Regions from separate parts of the Homo sapiens genome. Here regions 1 and 3 are each linked to region 2. Evidence: promoter capture Hi-C in 16 types of primary human blood cells and fetal thymus (Javierre and others, 2016). All regions are on one chromosome and are shown on one strand. The core of a region is centred on a gene start or on the middle of the fragment in contact, and the rest is flanking DNA. Distances in the headings are between cores, read along the strand shown. Region 1 overlaps PTPN5 (protein tyrosine phosphatase non-receptor type 5). Region 2 holds the start of SERGEF (secretion regulating guanine nucleotide exchange factor). Region 3 holds the start of TSG101 (tumor susceptibility 101).

Evidence for each region. The method cuts DNA at HindIII sites, captures the fragments that hold promoters and counts their contacts. A CHiCAGO score of 5 or more calls a contact.
Region 1: a fragment that was not itself captured here is called in contact with the fragment with the promoter of SERGEF in region 2 in 3 of 17 cell types (total CD4 T cells, total CD8 T cells and naive CD4 T cells); the score reaches 6.4 in total CD4 T cells.
Region 3: a contact is called between the fragment with the promoter of TSG101 here and the fragment with the promoter of SERGEF in region 2, in 8 of 17 cell types (total B cells, naive CD4 T cells, total CD4 T cells and 5 more). The highest score is 15.8, in total B cells.

What each region holds. Positions count from the first base shown.
Region 1 is chr11:18,756,645-18,759,464 of GRCh38, reverse strand. All of the region lies in intron 3 of PTPN5 (protein tyrosine phosphatase non-receptor type 5), which reads left to right. Among named protein-coding and RNA genes, the nearest start is that of IGSF22, 32 kb to the right of the region's middle. The HindIII fragment of the contact is 230 bases long and covers 1,387-1,616 here.
Region 2 is chr11:18,011,730-18,014,741 of GRCh38, reverse strand. SERGEF (secretion regulating guanine nucleotide exchange factor) reads left to right here and starts at 1,695. Exons shown (of 11, transcript NM_012139.4): 1 at 1,695-1,791. The coding sequence starts at 1,732. RefSeq lists enhancers at 978-1,027, 2,386-2,902, 2,903-3,012 and a silencer at 1,408-2,027. The HindIII fragment of the contact is 12,002 bases long and covers 1-3,012 here.
Region 3 is chr11:18,525,460-18,528,291 of GRCh38, reverse strand. TSG101 (tumor susceptibility 101) reads left to right here and starts at 1,350. Exons shown (of 10, transcript NM_006292.4): 1 at 1,350-1,517. The coding sequence starts at 1,476. RefSeq lists an enhancer at 1,081-1,190. The HindIII fragment of the contact is 722 bases long and covers 885-1,606 here.

The DNA of each region.
Region 1 (2,820 bases), core at 252-2,751, 740 kb before region 2:
ATCTAGCTAGGCCTTGGGGTGCTATGGCCAGGCAGCTGGGTTCAAATCCCAGCTCTGCTATTGACCAACAGCATGACCTGTGGTAAATTATCTAACTGCTGTGAGTTCCAAATTCCTCACTCTAGAATAAGGGTAGTAATATGATGACATCTTCACAGAGATTTTGTGAGGATTAATTGAGTTCATGGACGTAAAGTGCTTATTACAGAGTGCTCTATAAATGATAGCTAATAGTGACGGTGATGGTTGTTCCAGGATATGGAATGTGAACAGAAAAAAAACCTTTTTTTCCTTTGTGTTTTTTCTTTCTTTGTGTTCCTGTGCCTGGGGCTCGGGCGTCAGGTCCAGGCCAGTTCTACAGCAGTGGAGTGGGGTAGTGTATCTGGTGGTCCTTTCTTGACTCCCCACCACAGGTCTGAGACCTCACTGAACCAGCACAGCCACAGGCAGGAGTGTTTTATGCTTACATATTTAAGGGGCCAGGGTTGGTGGGGAGAATGATCCTCCGTTTTCCTTCACCAGGATAGAAACAGTTCTCATATTCTAGGGAGTTGCCTGGATGTGTGATGACACTTAAAGAGAGTCTTTGCAACTGAAAGAAGGAATGCATCTGGTCCAGTCCCCTGCATCTTCAAAGGTTGATGCCAATGCCCTTTTAGACAAATGGACATCCATCGTACTCCTAACATATGCAGTGACAGATGCCATTACCTTTCTCTTTGGTCTGGCTCAGGGACAAATCACCCCAGCTCTCAGGAATTCTTTATATCTGAAGAAAAAAAAAAAAAACTCATCCTTCCATTGAAGCTCATTTCTTCATTTCAGATCTCAGCATCTGTTTTGGTTGTCTGTTGCTGCCTGACGATCTCAACACTTAGTGGCTTCAAACAACAACCATTTTATTTGCTCATGACTTGGAGGGTCATGCAGGGTTTAGCTGGGTGATTCTTCCATTCCATGTGGCATCAGCTGAGGTCACTCATTCAGCTGAACACACCTCATTCTGTGCTGGGATAGAATGTCGGAGAAAGCTTTTATTATATGTCTGGCACCTCAGTGCTCCTACCTTGGGCTTCCTCACAGCATGATGGTCTCATGGTAGTTGGACTTCTTATGTGATTACCAAGAAGGAGCACTCTAAGAGGGGCAAAAAAGAAGCTTCAGATCTCTTAAGGCCCAGCTCCAGAAGTTACACAATGTCACTCCACTACATTTTGTTGATCAAAGCCAGTCACAGGGTCAGCCTAGATCCAAGGGATGGGAAGTAAATGCCACCTCTTGATAGGAGGAGTGCAGAGAATCTGTGGCCATCCTTCATCCACCAGCACATCCTCTTTATAAGCTTTCACATTCCTCCTAACACTAGCTTCATCCTCTCCTAAAGCTTCCTCCCCTTGGCCTTCATCCCATGTCTCATTCTTTTCCCCAACCTTCCACTATTTGAGCTACTGACCCTTTGTTGCTTAAATCTTCGGCTCTTTTGCTCTTCTCTTTTCTTTGGCTCTCCTCCCTGCTACTTCAAAGAGCACAGCTGTGTGCAGTCCCACCCCTAACATTTGTAAGGCTGTATATGTTATGTCTAGATAGCTAACTGTTCGAAAGCAAGCTGATAAGCTTTGAAAGGAAATATGTTGTCCTTCCACTCTGACGAATATTCATTTGTAGGGAGTTTAAAAGCCAGGTTCAAATAGAGAATTCTGAGTTCTGCACCAAAATATGGGGTCTAGGGAAAGCCAGTCTCCAGTCCACCCCTGCTCTGTCCAGCACCACAAGGACACTCATGAGCACTTGGGTAGATGGGTACCCCAGCCCACACATCTGAGCTCCAAACACACCTTCTGCAAACAGTCACCTTAGCCAGTTCTAGGAATACACACAGCACAGTGTACTCTCATGAAGCAGTCAAAAAAGAGGGCCACCAGGTCCAGGAATCAGGCTGAGGAGCATTTGACCAGGGAATCTGGGGTTTTGAATATGTGGCCTTACAGGGAGAATGTCCCTTTGGTTCCCTGGACTCCTTACCTGTGAGGAGGAGCATACCTGATGGAGGATTGGAGCAGGGCCCTTCAAAGTGTGAGATCAGGATGAGGGACATTTTCCTGGGTGTAAAGACAGTGCTGAGTGTGTCTGCCCTTGTATTGGGCATTGCCTTTCACTGATGGGCTTGGACAAACCCTGCACTGCTCCATCCCTCCCATGAGGCATTTCCACTGTGAAATGAGAAAAGCAATTTTTTTCATGGTAGTTATAAGAATTCAGTGAGACAATGGATGGGAATGGGGATTTGTAAACCATAAAGTCTTATTCACAGCTCATTTTTTTATGGTTTCTTATTGTCGGATTCAGAAGCCCTGGATGTGAATGAATTTGGACTCCGCCCTTTTTGAGCTTGGATCTTGCATGAATCACTTTACATCTCTAAACTTTGGAATTTCACACACACACATATGAAAATGATGTGTGGGACAGGTGGGGATGTTTATTAGGACCTTGGTGCTGTTTCTTTTTGTTTTGTTTTTGTTTTTTGGTTTTTTTTTTTTTTTGATGGAGTCTTGCTCTGTCACTCAGGCTGGAGTGCAGTGGCACGATCTTGGCTCACTGCAGCCTCCACCTCCCGGGTTTAAGCAATTCTCCTGCCTCAGCCTCCCGAGTAGCTGGGATTACAGGCATACGCCACCAAACCCGGCTAATTTTTTTTTTATTTTTAGTAGAGACGGGGTTTCACCGTGTTAGCCGGGGTGGTCTCGATCTCCTGACCTCATGATCCGCCCGCCTCGGCCTCCCAAAGTGCTGGGATTACAGGCGTGAGCCACCGCGCCC
Region 2 (3,012 bases), core at 446-2,945:
TATGGGAAATACTCACATGGGAAATGGACAGTTTTTATTTTGAAAAACTGTGGGTGTGAAAGACCTCCCCAAAGCATCAGTTTGTCTTTGCTCAGCTATTAGAGCAGATATCCAGCCACAAGCCCTTGTATTTCTCAGAACGGATTGGACAGAAGCCTGTCTGGGTCCTAAATCTAGAGGGATGCATACCAAGCTCTCTCAGGGACCCAGGTAAAGTAACTTTCCTTAGACCTGAGATGGGTTGAGACCCACACCACATTGATAATTGTGGCCACATATCCTACTAGAATTCTCTCTGGCCTCTCAACCTTTTTCGTAGACTGAAAGTCATACACTGGTTTCTAGACAGTTGCTTTGCAAGACCTGCTTTGGTGGTCTTGAACCTTACTTTATGATATAGGAGTAACTGGCACTTGTTGCTCAGCCAAAACTGAGCGGTGAAGGATCCCATTTTTACATCCTGTTACACATGCTTCAAAGAAATGGTCAGCACAAAAAAGCCCACTCATAAGACAGTCAGTAAGCATGGTATAGCTCCTGCACATTCAGATCCCTAGAGAATGAAGAGCTGTTTTATCTCTCCAAAGTTTGCTTTTTTCTTGGTATGGTCATCGACGTTCTCCAGATGCCACAGGTTGGAGAGATAAAGGTGAGGGGCTGCCCTCAAGTGGTCTTACAGGCAGAAACTCCTAAAAGTGGATGGAGTGAAAGAACAGGAAAGGACAGTGTAAGAGCTCATTGGAGACACTTCCCAGAAGCCCAGGGGTGAAGGGCAGTGAGTGCTGGAGGCCCGTGTCAGCAGAGGGGCCAAGTGCTACCGAATGTGAATGTGGATGATCATCTTTAATGTGACCCTATGTGTTCTGTATTCCCGGTACGCGGTGCCATATTTTCCTTCAGATAAATTGAACTTAATTAACTCCCATCAGCAACACGACGCTGTCTGAGAAAAGCCATTTTATATGGAAATGTTCGTTGGGTGACGATTATCCAGTATTATTAATAGAATGAGCTCAGGGCCGTGCCCGGAGCGCCGAGGCTGCCCCGGCAGGAGTCGACGCTAACCAGCCTCCCCCATTCAGCGTCGCGAGGCGCGGGTTCCCGCTCCGTGCCAGGTGCAGAGGGCGACACCGGCGACGTGCCACTCCACTCGCCTCCCAAGGCGCCCCCTCAGATGTTTGCGAACGCACACCAAAGCGGGCTCAAGACAATTGCGCCTGAGACGCCGGGCAGGACCCTGCCCTACCCCTCAGGCTCCATTTCCTGTTCCCGCAAATGGTGATGCCATCGCTGCCCTGTCAGCCCCTCTGGGCTGTCGTGGGCCTCCAAGGAGACAAAAACGCGAAGGAGCTTTGTGAACTGTGGCGCGCAGTGCACCTGCATGAAACATGAAATTATGACTAAAAATAAAGAGTACGAGGGGGTAGGAGCGAGAGGCTGAGAGGCCCAGCGAGACAGGAGGCTGCGGGCGGAGACGCTGCGAGCGCCGCCGGGGCGGGCTGACTGGGAGGCGGCTCCGGGGCTGTCGTCCGGCCCCGCCCACCACTGATCCCCAGTGGCCCGAGGGCCCGGCCGCACCCTCTCTCCCGGCCTGCGGGCCGCTTCCCACCACAGACCCCGCCCCGCGCCCTACCCATCACGCGTCCCCGGTCCGGCTCCGGCGCTCACCTACCCCCGGCAGGCGCCGCCCCCGTGCCGTCCCTCCCGGAAGCGCCGGCGGAGCGTCCTCGCATGGAGCGCGAGCCCAGCGCCTCGGAGGCCGCCCCCGCGGCGGCCGCGCTCTTCGCCTGGGTACGTGACTCCGCCCCCGGGCCGGTGCAGGCCCTGAGGGGCGCCGAGATGTGGGAGCTGCTGGCCGCGGCGTGGGCAGTTCAGGGGCTGGGCGGCTGAGGTCCGAGCCGGGCTCTGGGTTGAAGGATCCTGGGCTGGGAGCGGAGGGGGAGCGGAGGAGGAGCGGGCGGGCGGGGAAGGAAGGGTCTTCGCGGTCGACTTAGGGGCCTGCCGGCTGGCGGGGTCAGGGCCGGAGGGGCTGTGGCGCCGCGGGAAGAACCTGCCTCGGGGCAGAGCGTCTGGTTCCGCGAGAGCCCTCCAGCCCGAATAGCGCCTGGAAGACAGCGCGGAGGGCTCGGTGGAGAGGATCGCCCGGTCCCAGAGCTCCGTGGGGCCACCTGTGCCCCCCACACTCCTGATGCCTGGAGGAGGGAGACCCTGTCCCAGCCTGGCGAAAGCATCCTTTAGATGTGAGGCCTGCGGTGTTTGGCCGCGCACAAGGCACAGACCCTGCCTATTTGCTGACACTCTGCTGTGACCGGTTCTTGCATGTGTTGGGGGAGTTGGGCTGCTGTTGGTTTGACGGGAGCATTGGGAGAGACAGGGTCATCTTGATGTGTGTCTGGGAGAGAGGAGGGTTCATGCACAGGAGCGTGGCAGGTGGCCGACCAGCATGCACGGGAACAAGCAGTCGCTGCGTCTTGTGCTTCTTCATAGCACGTATCACAATTGTAATGATGTGTATAATTTATTATTAACGTCAGTCTCTCTGGCTGGAAAGTAAGTGTGGTAAGAGTGGGTGCTGTGCCTGTCTTGTTCACGGTGCCTCTCTTGGTGTCTGGCACATTGTAGGTCCCCAGTAAATACTCGTTGACGAATGAATGAACGAGCATCTGTGTGCCTACCCATGTGCTGGTGTTGGGGAAATACACATGAGTGAAATACACGAGTGAAGGACTTCCAGCTCTTGTGTTGGGGGAGAGCAAAATTATAACCTGTATTGCTGTTAAAATCAGTATTAGTTGTCCAATTTTTAAAGAAGTAATGATCAGTACAAGGCGGCAATTGTTGAATGTGGGGCTGCAATTTGGCAGGAGGGAGAGCATGGCGTGACCTGCGGTAGTCTGGCTGGCTGGGCGTCTTTGAGGTGGCCCGGGAGCTGGGGGTGGAGTTGGGGATTGAATGTGTGCTGTCTCTGGCTTTTTCCAGGCAGGAGACTGGCGTCTGTGTGGACAGAGGAAA
Region 3 (2,832 bases), core at 101-2,600, 510 kb before region 2:
AATATATATTACCTGGCATTCCTCCAACTCACAAAGGTACAGTTGCTCTAATTAAAGGGACTCCTGGTTAAGCCGTGGCTTTAAGAACAGTTTGAAAACCTTCTTGCTTTTAAAAGACATAAAACAGCAAGTAAAATGGAAGGACAGACAGACCTCTAGTTTGGTTTGACTGGAGCTGTATGCTTAACTAAGGAGCTGAAAAACAGAGGCGGAGGTTGCAGTGAGCCGAGATGGTGCTACTGCACTCCAGCCTGGGCGATGGAGTGAGAGTGACTCAAAAAAAAAAAAAAAAGAAAAAGAAAAAGAAAAACAATACCTATTAATAGCCTTTATTTGTGCGTGTTAGCAACAGTTTATAATGATGCTTCCACATGCTTTCAGTTAGGCCCTCCTTGTGAATGTGACCTTCACTTAGACGCCAACTTTGAAGGGAATCAATACTACGGCCTTGTTCTCATTAGGGCTGTACTAAAATAATTGAAACTGTCACACATCATCAAACTCAAAATTTTACAATACCTTGAATGACACTGTGCTTACAAAACTGACGGTGATGTGTAATGATGACTAATGTAAGTCACCATGAAGAATTTTTATGGGAAGTAAAAATTCAATTAAGATGGAAGTACCTACCCTTGCATTGTGCAAGGCAATGAAGATCTGAAGGAAGCCTGCCTTCAAGGGCTTGGATTTTGACAGCGGACAGGTACACAAATACAGCACCAGGTAAAATACGGCCTGTATTATCATTTATGGGTGGGTACAGAGGAGAAATTCTGACTTACGGAATGATTTCCTGGAGAAGAAATTACTATCTGGCTTCTTGTGAAACAAAGGCTCTACACTTTACCCTTGCCAACGTATAGTATGAAGGTCTTTAAGCTTAAAAAAAATCATTAATTAGAGGACCACTGGGCATCATCTAAGGCAAGTGTATGACTTTAGAGTCGGGAGAAATTTGCGCCTGAGCTAGAAATGCACTAGCCTACCATTATCACAAGAGCAAGTCAGTGACAGAACAGTTCTCTGACCGCCAGTGCAGTGCCCTCCCACTTGATCAATCAGTCATTAAGGCTCACTGGCAAGCCCTTCGTACTTCTTCCCTCTCCGGCACTAGCTTCCTTAAGTCGACTCTGTGAAATACCTGCTAATCTTATCCTGAACCAGAGTTTCGACCCTCGGAACAGTCTTGCCCACATCTTTGGGACCCGATTCGTCCTGCTGATTCCGGCACTCGAGGGGCGGGTTGGTTGGAACCCACCCCACCAGGCCCCTCTCAATCCCACACGGTGTCCACCCTTGCCCGCAGGACGGCGGCCCGGAAGTGACGTAGTGGAAGCGGAAGTGGTGTAGTGGTGCCGACTTCCTGTTGTTTGAGGCCGGGTTGGGGGTGTGCGATTGTGTGGGACGGTCTGGGGCAGCCCAGCAGCGGCTGACCCTCTGCCTGCGGGGAAGGGAGTCGCCAGGCGGCCGTCATGGCGGTGTCGGAGAGCCAGCTCAAGAAAATGGTGTCCAAGGTGAGGCTGCGACGCGCTCGCCTCCCAGGGCGCGCCCACCGCTCCCTTCCGCGCCCTGTCGAGTCCGTCCCGGCCCAGCCAAGCAAGCTTCCCAGACGGGCCGGAAGCCCCGGTGCAGTCCTTAGCGACCTCCTCAGAACCCCGCCCCGAGGCGCCTGTCGCCTGGTGCGGGAATCCCCGTACGGGAGCTGGGAGGGTGGGGGACGGCGACAGTCAACAAAGGCGTGGAGCGGAGGCTACCTGACACCTGCCGCCCACCCGCCCTCCTCTCTTCCACTGAGTTTGGAGCTGTCTGTGGGGCAGTGTAGTTTTTCGTTTGTTTTTATAAACACAAACAAGGGATCATACTTAGTTGTAGATCTGAGGCAATCCTCTACTCCTGTCCCAATCTAGGGATCCTCCAGTCTTAGCCTTTCTTTTGCCGACCCGCAGAGAGTGTGGCCTTTTCAGTTTTGTATTCTCCAGAAAAGAAGCGAAAATACCAGTCCCTTACTGCCCCAGGTGAAATACATACCATTACCATTTCAGGGATTTTCTAAGAGTAACTACTTTTAAGTGTATGCTTCTTATAACGCGTATTTATTTGCTTTGAGCTTAATTTATGATCTTCACGGCTCAAGACTAGTGTTTTTTTTTTCAATTTTTAAAAAAGCAGTTAAGCATTTTGTATTTTAAAGCCATGATTTATTTATATAATTACTTCAAACGTGGCACCTCACACCAGAGTGGAATGGCTTTTGTTATGTTTTGTTGTAATTTTCCAAAACTATGTAAAATGATTGAGAGTTGAGTCTTGACCAGTTCAACGTGTTAGCTTGGGATAGTTTTGTCAAAGCAAGAATGGTAGCAATCAGCGGTTTAAGCGGTTTCAATTTTTAATAAAACACACTATTATGTGTAAAACTTTTTTAAAAACAGACTTTTTCCAGTTAAATCGCCCCCATAGTTCTTGATTGAAGACCAAATAATCTCTAAGGAGAAAATGACAGCTTTCAAAATAAAGCATATATTGGTTGTGTAATCGTATATTTTAGGCTTCTTGGTTTTGTTTTGATAAACTTGTTATCCTTAGTTATAGAAGACATATGGGAAGCCATAGAAGATTGTGACCCAGGTAAAGATCCATGTTGTAACTTTTATATATCACTTTTTGAAAAAAACGGTATATTGTTTTACATAGTATGTAACTGAAGAGTATCTGTTCCATGACTCTTTTTTTTTTTTTTTTTTTTTTAGAGTCTTGCTCTGTCACCCAGGCTGGAGTGCAGTGGCACGATCTTGGCTCACTGCAATCTCCGCCTCCCAGGTTCAAGCG